Linked DNA regions of Homo sapiens: region 2 is linked to region 1. The links are contacts of gene promoters, found by promoter capture Hi-C in blood cells and fetal thymus (Javierre and others, 2016). All regions are on one chromosome and are shown on one strand. The core of a region is centred on a gene start or on the middle of the fragment in contact, and the rest is flanking DNA. Distances in the headings are between cores, read along the strand shown.

What was found. The method cuts DNA at HindIII sites, captures the fragments that hold promoters and counts their contacts. A CHiCAGO score of 5 or more calls a contact.
Region 2: a fragment that was not itself captured here is called in contact with the fragment with the promoter of NDUFAB1 in region 1 in 1 of 17 cell types (M1 macrophages); the score reaches 5.5 in M1 macrophages.

What each region holds. Positions count from the first base shown.
Region 1 is chr16:23,592,933-23,599,184 of GRCh38, reverse strand. It overlaps NDUFAB1 (NADH:ubiquinone oxidoreductase subunit AB1), which reads left to right and starts at 2,869. Exons shown (of 5, transcript NM_005003.3): 1 at 2,869-3,062. The coding sequence starts at 2,895. RefSeq lists silencers at 3,122-3,211, 4,957-5,133. The HindIII fragment of the contact is 11,223 bases long and covers 1-6,252 here.
Region 2 is chr16:24,548,362-24,554,613 of GRCh38, reverse strand. RBBP6 (RB binding protein 6, ubiquitin ligase) reads right to left here. Exons shown (of 18, transcript NM_006910.5): 3 at 5,633-5,669; 4 at 1,057-1,101. Among named protein-coding and RNA genes, the nearest start is that of RBBP6, 12 kb to the right of the region's middle. The HindIII fragment of the contact is 301 bases long and covers 3,904-4,204 here.

The DNA of each region.
Region 1 (6,252 bases), core at 1,620-4,119:
CATCCTTTGATGGGAATGTTACTGAAAAGCACCGGTGTTGTCTTTTAACTCTTCCTCATCTGCTAAGGATGTGATCTTAATATTGGGACTTTTACCCTACAGGCCATGTAGGCTGATATTTTGTCTTTATTTGTTTGCTGAAGGGAAAAGTAGCTCTCCCAAATTATTTAAATAAGAGATGATTTGTTATGTTTTACCAAAAGGATTAAATGTAACACTGAGGCCGGGTGCAGTGGCTCACGCCTGTAATCCCAGCACTTTGGGAGGCCGAGGCGGGCAGATCATGAGGTCAGGAGTTTGAGACCACCCTGGCTAACACGGTGAAACCCCATCTCTATAAATACATACATACATACATATATACATACATACGTGTAACACTGAAAGACTAGATAGGTCATGGGAAGAGATGGCCCCAATTGTGAACTTAGTAGGATTAGGTTCTTCCTAAGCTAAGAGCTACATTTTTTTGGGAAACAGAGTCTCACTCTGTTGCCCAGGCTGGAGTGTAGTGGTGTGATCATAGCTCACTGCAGCCTTGACCTCCTGGGCTCAATTGGTCCTCCCACCTCAGCTTCCCAAGCAGCTGGGACCACAGACATGCATCACCATGCCTGGCTAATTTTTTAAATTTTTTATGGAGACAAGGTCTCCCTGTGTTGCCTAGGTTGATCTCAAACTCCTGGGCTCAAGCGATCCACCTCCCTTGGCCTCCCAAAGTGCTGGGATTACGGAGGTGAGCCACTGAACCAGGCTTGCCTGTCTGGCTTGCTCACAGTTGCAGCCTCAACAATTAGTACGTAACAGATACTCAATTTTTTTTTGAGACTTTTTTGAGATGGAGCTTCACTCTTGTTGCCCAGGCTAGAGTGCAATGGCGCGATCTCAGCTCCCTGCAACCTCTACCTCCCGGGTTCAAGCAATTCTCCTGTCTCAGCTTCCTGCCTCCTGAGTAGCTGGGATTACAGTCACCTGCCACCACACCCAGCTAATTTTTGTATTTTTAGTAGAGACGGGGTTTCACCATGTTGTCCAGGTTGGTCTCAAACTCCTGACATCAGGTGATCCACCTGCCTCAGCCTCCCAAAATGCTGGGATTACAGGTTTGACCCACCATGCCTGGCCCCCAGACACTCGAGTTTTAAAGGAATGCTATAATAAATAGAAATTATTTTACAACAGTGGGATGAAACTATGTTTTTTTTGTTTTCGTTTTTTTTTTTTGAGATGGAGTCTTGCTCTTTTGCCAGCCTGGAGTGCAGTGGCGCAATCTCGGCTCACTGCAACCTCTGCCTCCCAAGTTCAAGCGATTCTCCTGCCTCAGCCTCCTGAGTATCTGGGACTACAGGCGCGCACCACCACACCCAACTAATTTTTGTATTTTTAGTAGAAATGGGGTTTCACCATGTTGACCAGGATTGTCTCGATCTCTTGACCTCGTGATCCACCCACCTTGGCCTCCCAAAGTGCTGGGATTACAGGTATGAGCCACCGCGCCTGGCAGCATACCATTACATTTTATTTTACTTGGATTTAACAAAAATAAAAAGAAATTGAGGTAAAACTGGTGACATTATTGGATCATTCATTCAGGCAGATTTCAGAATTTGGAGTCATTATCCCGTGTGTTTCCATTTCAGTCAATATCCTTTAGCTCCCTGCTTAGAAATAGGAATTAGCCTTCTTAAACTCCTCCCTCGCTTACCTATTTTTGTTAGCTATTGTAAGGAACATGGCTGTGCTTTGGTCAAGGATAGGCCAAGGTAAGATGTTTACATCCTGCGTGACTCAGCAAGTTTAGACAGAGGCGTATAACTCCACTTGTTATCACAGCCATGTAGGCATAACATGGGAAGGTCATCACTTGGCTCTAAGCCACTATTTTCTGTAAAAGGTATAATTGCCCTGCTGATACTGTACAGGCGTTCGTGCCCAGAGAAAGAGAGAGCCAGAGCTGTCAGTCTTTGCAGACAGACAGGGGGAGCCAGATCACAGCTGAGAGAGAGTTAAGCTGCTGACCCTGAAGGCAAGGGAGAGCCAGCCTCGCAGTTGTGTGGGGGAGCCATGGGACTAAGCAGCTGAGACAAGGCAGACAGTGTGAGAGAACTAGTGTAAGTAAGCTGCTGATGAGAGCTGCTGCTGAATAAAATCATCTTTCACCTGCCTACCGTCCCCTGAGTGTTCTTTCAGCTATCTGTTCATCCACCCACTCCCCTCAGACCTCGATATGGGCTGGAACCTGGCTGTGGGCATGACAGTTGGCATAGTCGTGGACCTGACAGCTATATTATACACTGTCAAGTTTTAAAACATGTATATTGTTTTAATCGTAATTCTCACATTTATTAGTCTTAGGTATTGAAATTGATTATTTTTTCACATTATTATATATATTTTTTTACCTATTCAATAAATGTTAATACTTGTGGAAGAATTGTGGAATCAAAACTTTGTCCTTTTTTTCTTTTAATCTTTTTTGTAATAGAGACGGAGTCTTGCCGTGTTGGCCAGGTTGGTCTTGAACTCCTGAGCTCAAACAGTCCTGCCACCTTGGCCTCCCAAAGTGCTAGGATTAAAGGCGTCAGCCACCGCACCCGGCCCCAAACGTTTAAACAGATGTATTTCAGAACTTTCAGATAAAAAATGAAAGTAGGTTTCTCGTGCCGTGTCGTTTAGGGAAAGACGGCGACGTCTGCACAGTTTAGTTGTGACACCAAGCAGTTGTTCGTCCCCGAACCTGGATGGGCTCCGAGGGCGCAGTGCCTCCAGGAGCCGCCAGGGGCCGCCACCGCCGGCGGTGCCCGACAGCGCTGCCGTGTGCGTCGCCTGCGCGCCGCCGGAAAGGAACCCTGGTCCGGAGGCGGCGGCGCAGTGCATCCTGGGTTGGCGTAGCCATGGCGTCTCGTGTCCTTTCAGCCTATGTCAGCCGCCTGCCCGCGGCCTTTGCGCCGCTGCCCCGGGTCCGGATGCTGGCCGTGGCCCGGCCTCTCAGCACCGCTCTCTGCTCCGCGGGGACCCAGACGAGGCTCGGGACTTTGCAGCCGGCCTTAGTGCTCGCGCAGGTGACTCGTGGTGACTTTGCTGCCGCTTGGCAAGGGTCAGGGATTGGGCCCGGTGGGGGTGGGGGCCGGGCATCCGGGGCGCGCCAGCTGCAGGCAGGGGTGACCCGGGGGGCAGCCGGCTCGCTCCGCAGCCCCGCTGCCTAAAGGTGTTTAGTTGACCCCTGACGGGAGGCCGGGTGACCTCGTAATAACGAGCAAGAGCACTGACTCGAGTCCAGCACTGCTGGGCTGCCGCTTACCGAAACTTTGGACAAGTCTCCTAGCCTGGCTCACACTCACCTGCAAAATTGGGATCCTGGTCTCTACCTTGCGGAGTAGCAATGAGGATTAGATGAGTTAATGCGGCTAGAGCACCTCGTACGGTCTCAAAATAGCGGTCACCGTATTGTAGTGAAAGCAGCATGCAAAGAGGCAGCCACACTGGCCTACAGCCTTCTCCAGAGCGGTTTTCTCTCTGCAGTTCTGTCCTTACTCTTCCCTGCAGCACCTTCTGCCTGTGTCCAGGACTCCTGGAAGTAATTCTAGGAAACAAGCCAAGTGACCTTTGACCAATAAGGATTTGAATTGCGCGGGTCCACTTATATGCGGATTTTTTTTCAACCAAACGCGACCAGTATTTACGGGATGTGCCGCCCCGCGTATAAGGAGGGCAGGCTCTTCCTATAAGCGGATTCTGCAAGGCTGACTGCGGGACGTGAGTGTGCGGGGATTTGGGTATAGTCGGGGGTCCTGGAACCAATCTGCGCAAATACCAAGGAACGACTGTACCTGTAGTATATAGCTTGAGCTGATGAAATCTGCGTGAGGCTGAAACGCCGGGAGGCAGTGATTTCGGTGTTGTTGTTGTTGTTTTTGAGACAGAGTCTCGCTCTGTCACCCAGGCTGTAATGCAGTGGCGTGATCTCAGCTCACTGCAACCTCCGGCTAACGGCAACCTCCGCCTCTCAGGTTCAAGCAATTCTCCTCCCTCAGCCCCCCCGAGTATTTGGGACTACAGGCGCCCGCCACCATGCCCGGCTAAGTTTTGTATTTTTAGTGGAGACGGGGTTTCATCATATTGGCCAGGTTGGTCTTGAACTCCCGACCTCGCAATCCACCCGCCTCGGCCTCCCAAAGTGCTGGGATTACAGGCGTGAACCACCGCGCCCTGCCTTTTTTTTGTTGTTTTCTAAGTTCTCCAGATGACTCTGAAGTGCAGTTGGGAATAAAAATAACCGTCTTAAGGTAGGATAGACTCCCAAGGTCAAGTTATGAAACCCCTTTTCAAAGTCATAGACTTCAGGTAATAGTGGTTTCAACCTTGACTGCATGTTAGTGTGAAAAATAAGTGTGTCTGGCCAGGCGTGGTGGCTCACGCCTGTAATCCCAGCACTTTGGGAGGCCGAGGCGGGCGAATCGCTTGAGCCCAGGAGTTTGAGACCCTCCTAGGCAACATGGTGGAACCCCGTCTCTACAAAAAATACAGAAATTAGGCCGGGCGCGGTGGCTTATGCCTGTAATCCCAGCACTTTGGGATGCCGAGGCGGGCGGATCACGAGGTCAGGCGATCGAGACCATTCTGGCTAACACAGTGAAACCCCGTCTCTACTAAACATACAAAAAATTATCCGGGCGTGGTGGCACGCGCCTGTAGTCCCAGCTACTCAGGAGGCTGAGGTGGGAGGATCGATTGAACCCAGGAGGCAGAGGTTTTAGGGAGCTGAGATGATGCCACTGCACTCCAGTCTGGGAGGCAGACCGTCTTAAATAAGCCAGCCAGCCCGTGCCAGATCGACAGAATCTAGAAGTGAGTACTAGGCGACTATTTTTAGAAGTCATCAAGTGTTTCTTTTGTGAAGCCAGTGTTGCTGTTCACTGACAGTGTAATGGATTCATTCATTGGGCACTGCCCTGTTGGCTGTATCAAAAGGTGAAAAGTGTCACCTTGAAATTAAGGGTTAAAGGCCAGGCGCGATGGCTCACGCCTGTAATCCCAGCAGTTTGGGAGGCCGAGACGGGCGGATCACGAGGTCAGGAGATGGAGACCATCCTGGCTAACACGGTGAAACCCCGTCTCTACTAAAAATACAAAATAATTAGCCGGGCGTGGTGGCGGGCGCCTGTAGTCCCAGCTACTCGGGAGGCTGAGGCAGGAGAATGGCATGAACCCGGGAGGCAGAGCTTTCAGTGAGCCGAGATCGTGCCACTGCACTCCAGCCTGGGCGACAGAGCCAGACTCCATCTCAATAAATAAATAAATAAATAAATAAATAAATAAATAAATAAATAAATAAGGGTTAAAAAGGCAGTAGTTAGAATTGATGAGTGTCTGGTTCCTAAGATTGATTTCAACATTGGGCTAAAATGTGAAGTGACTGTCTTTGTTCTTACAGCATTGATTCTCAGTTGATTGGACATACAGATCACTTAGGCTGGAATACAGATTCTGATTCAGTTCTGGGAAGGGGCCAGAGAGTTTCCACCTCCAGTGGGCTTCCAGAAGATCCTGCTGCGGGTGTTCCTTGGACCATGCTTTGAATGGCAAGGAGCTCAGAAATGTTCCACTATGGCGGCTTGGCTTGCATATATAGCAGAGGAACCATTTTATTTATATTTACAAAGTGGTTTTGACTAAGTTCATTCAAAGATATTGAGGGCCAGCTGTGTGCCAGGACTCATGCTAGCTGTTGAGAGATACAGAGATGGATACAAAAGGAAGACATTAGCTTACATCTTCATTGAACGCTTTGCAGCCCTTATGTCCAACTTGCTGGCTCCTTCTCTGCTGCTGTCTTCTTCCCTAGGCTGTTGTGACACTGTTCTCCCTTGGTTGGTTTGTCCTCCTACCTTGTTGGGACACTTTGCCTTTCAGGCTGGAGTGCAGTGGCATGATCGTGGCTCACTGCAGCCTTGACCTCCTGGACTCAAATGGTCCTCCTGCCTCAGCTTCCTGAGTAGCTGGGACTACAGGCATGAGCCACCACCCCTAATTTTTTGATGTCTGTCTTCTTTTTAGAGACGGAATCTCCTTATGTTGCCTAGGCTAGTTGTGAACTCTTGGGCTCAAGCAATCCTCCTGCCTCAGCCTCCCAAGTGCTGGGATTACAGGCATGAGCCATCACACCTGGTGTGCCTAACCCTTAAATGTTGGTGGGCTCCCGAGTTCTCTTACCACACATGCTCCCTGGACTCTTCACTCCTGGTTTCTGTT
Region 2 (6,252 bases), core at 2,805-5,304, 950 kb before region 1:
GAAAATTATAAAATAGGATGGCTTTAGTCCACTTTATGTTTTAGAATAATCAATTTTAATGCTTAGTTTTCCCAGAACAGGAGCTTAAAAAGCAATTTGTTACTAGGACATTTTGTCGGGATACAGTCTAGGGGAAAGGACATAACAAAGCCAAGAACAAGATAGGGACAGCACTAATGGAAAACCCATCTTTTCATTAATCTTGGTTGCTAAATTTGGTTTCACATTTCTGATAGCAGGGAAAAAGGATTTTTGGAAAACTGGACAGCTTCCTTCTTGGCCCTCAAAAGTCTGCCTATTTTTTTTTTTAAAGGCACAATTTGCAAGCTAAATGTATTGCTTTAAAAAGTAATCCATCACTAGTGCTTTCCCAAACAGAAGATACACATTGTTGAGCAGAAAATGCAAGCAATCTTATCGCAAAACATGGCATATACAGTGATTCAGGAGGTAACAATTTGCCCCTCTGCCAAACATACACATTGGTATATTCCTGCAAACAGCTTTACACACTTACACAATTCATGTAGTCTGTGTTCAAACAAATTAGGTTGTTCAAAACTTTTCCTAATGCAGACAGACTACAAGTCTATAGCATAAAGAAACAACTGCATCACATTTAAAATATTGACCTTCATGGGATCAAGTCAAATATTCAAGAAATAACCATGCAATCGTCCGTGTAAAGGAAATCTTCTGTTTTGGCTGCTTAAAAAAGGTCCACATAATTTATAGCCAAAACCAGGAAATTCCTCCAGAACCTTGTTAGTTTCCAATGTATAATTAAACAAAATGTATGAGGGAAAAAAAATAATTAAGTGTAGCTTCAAGTGTTTCTTCTGTCTTGAAGATGAACAATACTCCAATACGCTGAGGCTGACAAAGTATTCCCCTATCTTCTCAAAACAGCAACTACTCTTTACAGGATAGTAATAATATGTACAATGCTTTTGCAAAATATGTCCTCCCCCAACCCCTCTTAAAAAACCGTTCCACATAAAAAAATATGATGTTAGAAAAAAACTTATATTTTCAAGAATATATATATATATATACCTTTGTAAGCTGGGCCAGAGAAATAGACGCGGAAGAGTCATCAATCTGTTCACAAAAAATTAAACACACATTCAAGTTCCAAACTGAAAACATCTTAAAGTGATCATTTAGCCCCTATTGACACCTTAATGTTGAAATATTGGGCATTTTCTTAGTTTTCTAAAGAATGTTAAGCTTGAAAATGTAGCTCAGCCTACTTCATTCTTCTCTAGATATTTCACACAGTTATAAAAAGCTATCAGTTGGAGGGGAGGAAGAGGGGACTCAATTAAAATGAAAAAATGTATCACACAGAAAATCTGTTCAGAGTGTCGACTGAATACTAGGAGTCCCATATCTCCCTATGGTCTCTAAATGTGACAATACTCAAGACAATGTACACTGGAAGAGAGAATAAGAAATCTAATTTTCCTGCAAGGCCATTATACAACATTGTAAAAACAAACAGCCCTTTAAGGGCTCAGATAATTGCTTTAATAAATAACAGCTCCCATATAATTGCTACTTCTTTAATTTTTGAAAACATACTCTTCAGTCTGAGTAAGTTTGTTTATTCTCTCATACAAAGAGTAATAGCTTCTTGTCAAAGAAACCACAGCTTTCTCAGGGCAAAGATGTTAAGTCAAAAAAAGGGAAAACAATGGCACCCTGAGGAGAAGGCCAACAGAGCTGTCACTTATTATGATGGACTCTAATATTTGAAGAAAGTTAATTTAATCACACAGAGCAAGTGTACATAAAGGATATAAGAGGGCTTTAAAAAAGGTATTTTAATGAGCCTTAAGCATTCTGCCCCACTCACTAACTGCCAATTCTCTAACACTGAAGAGGGGGAGATAACTGGGCATATTTGAAGAGGCATCTTTGTGTAAAAGATGTATGGAGTCAGGAGAGAGCCACCTTCATAAACTGTTCTGTGCAAAGAGGAATAAAACATTTCTCTTTCAAAATAAAATAAAAATAAAAATGTATTTTAAATTGAACACTAATTTTTTTCATTTGATCCTCTGAAATGATTTTAATATCAGTTTTTAAAAAAATCTTTAGCAAACAATCTTGAAGATATGATTTCCCTACAGCTTCCTACGTAGTAAGTGGGTTGCTTAGTTAACATGTCGTAAGGTCAGAACTCTTCATTTAAAATGGAGAATGTAACAAGATGTCTGGATCAAAGAAAAAAGTCTTCATCAGGTATTCTGTTCCAGAGAACCAAAAGTTTTAAAATAAAAGCAACATGACTTAAGAGCCCCAAAGACAAATGTAACCAGTCTCAATATGAAGTTCTTAGCCAATGCCCACACAGTAGGGATTCAATAAATGTAAATAAAAAATAATGTTGGCTAAATATAAGACACATCTCACAAATATCTTAGGGTTTTAAAAGTTAATTTGATGGATATTACTGGGATGTTTATTCAGACAAAAGGTTCTTTGCTCCACATTAAGGAACTGACTATAAAAGAGTTCATGATGCACTAACCCTATAACTTAATGCATATCTACATAATTTGCCAATGGGTTATCATTTTTGTCCAGCTTTTAAGTATTTTTTTCCTTTAAGAACTAATCTCAAGTGGTAAGTAGAAAAAAACCTCTAAATAATACATATCTCTTTTTATCTAAAATAAGTTCTGACCTACTCAATCTATTTTAAAGATTTTATACCAACCAGAAGTTACTTGATTTTAAGTAACAAGGACTAGACAAATTGCTGTCAACCATCATCTATACTACATTCTAACCAATAAAACAAATAGTCTTTAAAAATAGCCCATTACTATCTAGAATAGAATATAAATACTGATGATTTCCTTGGAAAGAAAACAATTATATTAACTTTCTTACCACTGGAACTAAAAAACTTAAGAATAAAAAAAAAATCTTCCCACTCCTAACACTTAAGATATAGTATCCTTTTTGTTTTTATGCTGGGCTTTTGTGTGCTTTTAAGCTTTCTGCTAACTTATTAGTATTATGTATTTATTGACTTTGAAGTGGTTTTAGATATGCAACTGCACCTAAATCACCTTTTTACCACCAAGTAATCACTATTGCCCCTAAATATCTTATAGTCCACAAAGAAGTCAAATTTACCTCAAATTTAGAAAAGCAAACAAATGTTTCCTACATATAGCAAGGTGTTCAGAAATGAGCAAAAAATGTTGACAAAGAATGGTTTAAAAATGATTAGGAATTTGTATTACTAAACATCAATAAAAATAGTGACTCTTGGTAAGATACTAATGGTAAAAAAAAGTCTGCCACTTAAAGTCCTCACAAAACGGACTGATGCAGACCGTAGACATTAAAATTAACCCACCTCCCTGTACCTAATTAGGGGTCTTGTTTTGGGAAGCAAGGATCTAAAATCTTTTATGCCAATTATATTAGCTTTTTGAAGTTAAAGAATCCTATAAAATACCACTCTGATATTTAGTTAGCAAGAAGAACATCCAGCTTTGGGGTATCAACATGGATGGATGACTAAAAACAAGACTGGGGAATATGGAAACAGCCATCCATTCTTGATTAGAGTTCGCTTCCATTACCAAAACTATACATTTACTTTACTAATCAGGATAAGAAAAATTTGGCTTAGCGCCTCTATTTACTTTGCTTTTGTGAATGTGTACAATCCACGTGACTCTAAATCTCCTAAGATGGGCACTAATTATGCTTGATGAATATATTCTCATCTTAAATGCCAGCAAATGTACCCCAAGCAAATAAATGATGGGGACAACAAGGTTATCTAATATCTCTATTTCAGATAATTCTACCTAAAAATTAAAGCCAATTTTAAAGTATTAAAAAAAAAAGAAAAGAAAAGAGAAACCTAAATAAGCTTAAATAAACTGCTTCTTATAAATGTAATACAGACATGCCGGAACACACAAGGCTAAAAGAATGTTAACTTTATTTATGAACATGTGATTTGTGTTTATACACATGCTAATAAACAAAAAGGAAATAACTGTTTTCAAGAAATAAAACTTCATCTGAATTAGTTTAAATACTATATAAACTGTACTTTATACAAAATGTGTTACATTAACTACTACAGTCACCAGGATAGTCAATCTAATTTATGCTAGCATTTGGATACATAAAAATCAGTTTTAAACCAATCACCAGCAAAACATAAGCTTGGACAGTTTTTACAGCATTATGCTTAAAAAAAAAAAACAAAAAAACAAAAAAAAACACCCCATATCCAAAAAGAGGAAAAAAAAACCCCAAACACTAAGACTTTTGATCTTAGAATCACTGTATTTAGTTCCACAAGAACTAAAGGCCATATACTCTAAAGAACAAGTCCAATGTTCAGATATTCTATATTATCATGTTTAAGATCCAATGATCCAAGGTTAGTGAAATGCCTCATATACAAAGAGCAATAGTATTTAAAAAGTATATAATGTGAAATAGCAAGCAATACCCTTGAATTCTAAATGAAGATTTTAGACATCTTGCATTGTGTACAATATCAAGCCTGGGCATTAAAATGTTTAGAGAACCATTACATTTACAGAACCCAATTATGATAGACCTGTGTTATGAAACAGATGCTTCACCCCACAACTTAGGAATGCTGCTACTTTTTACTTAAGAGCTCAAAGTTAAAATGGTATCACAAATTAAGTTAATCTGTGATTACAAAAATTAAGCTTAACTTTCTTCAAACCAGTTATCCTGGTTAAGGGGAGTTACCTCTGATAAGGTACAGCTTTCAATGGCCTAAAATTAACGCAGCATTTTAGTATAAGAGGGAAATATTTTAATTTGGACATCTGCACTAACTAGATAGAAGTGGAAGATCTCATTAAACTTTGAAAACAATATAATCAGTTTATATAAACTCAAAATCACTAAGACACTTATATATTCATAGGGGGCCCCAGGTTCAGGTTTCACTTTATAGTACAGATGTAAACAAAAGAAGGAGCTCAAAATGCCAAATAAAGCAAGACTAAATAATAAAGCTGCATCAATGGTCTCTGGAAAGCTCTTTTCTATGATGTGTTTGAACTTGGAGAAAGCATCAAACTTTAATATAAGCTTTGCATGTTGCTAATGCGTTTTTGGAAGCCATAAATCAGGCAGGAAAAAAAAAACTAACAAAAACTAAGTGATACAACGTGAAAATGGCAAAATATACACTCCAAACATTTTTTATTGCAAGAAACAAAAAGCACACAACAGCCTGTACATACATACAAAATACTAACTATAGACAGACAAATGTAGAACATGTCATCATGTTCCTTAGTGTAAAACCTAAACGATCTAAAAAGGATCATACATTAACTGTACAACACAGTGTCATACAGGGATAATGCTATCATATTTAATATGAAACAGTGTTACGGGCACAAATTACCCATTTCTACAAAATAAGTGTGCAAGTGATGCCACATATTATCCATATTCAACTGAGCTGTCATCAAAATACATTTTATTTACAATATGTACTATGATCAGTTGGATATTAAGTTCTAAAATGATTTACTTCACTGCTACATTATAAAGGTAAAAGCAATGTGTAGAAAAAGTGTGAGATTGTGTTTTTACATACTGCTTTTGTAGTTGCCATCGCTGGTTCAGTTCGACTTCTAAAACACAAAATAAAAACAAAAATTAACATTAGCTATTTATGAATTTTTGTGCTAATAAATTTTAACACATTATCTTCAATAATACATTTTTAGGAACCTAATTTTCCTTTGGTATAAATATTTAACAGCCAATTTCTGAATGAATAAATTACTCTGATTAATCTTTACCACCTTTGAGCAGTTTTAAGATAGATTTGTGGTTTGGAAAAAAATTCCATACTAGGGAATTCAAAAATAGGTGTACCCTGCCACTTAAAACAAATGTTTTCTGAAAGGTAGTATAGGGATTTTATGTTTAGAAACGTAGTTTATTCTTAATAAACTGAAAATTTTAAATTATATAATTTCCCAGTTTCTGAATGCGTAAATTTTCACACATCAGGAAGACTGCTGTTGTTAACATTTGTAATTTGAATCCCTGAGAAATTGCTGTGCTCCCAAAACTAATTTTCAAATCTGGAGGGCCAGGCTGATAGCTATTTTCATTTTTCAAATGTCTCAAAACAACAATCAAGGATTGAACAAGAGGCCAAGGTGAGAGGATCACTTGAGCCCAGGAGTTTGAGACTAACCTGGGCTG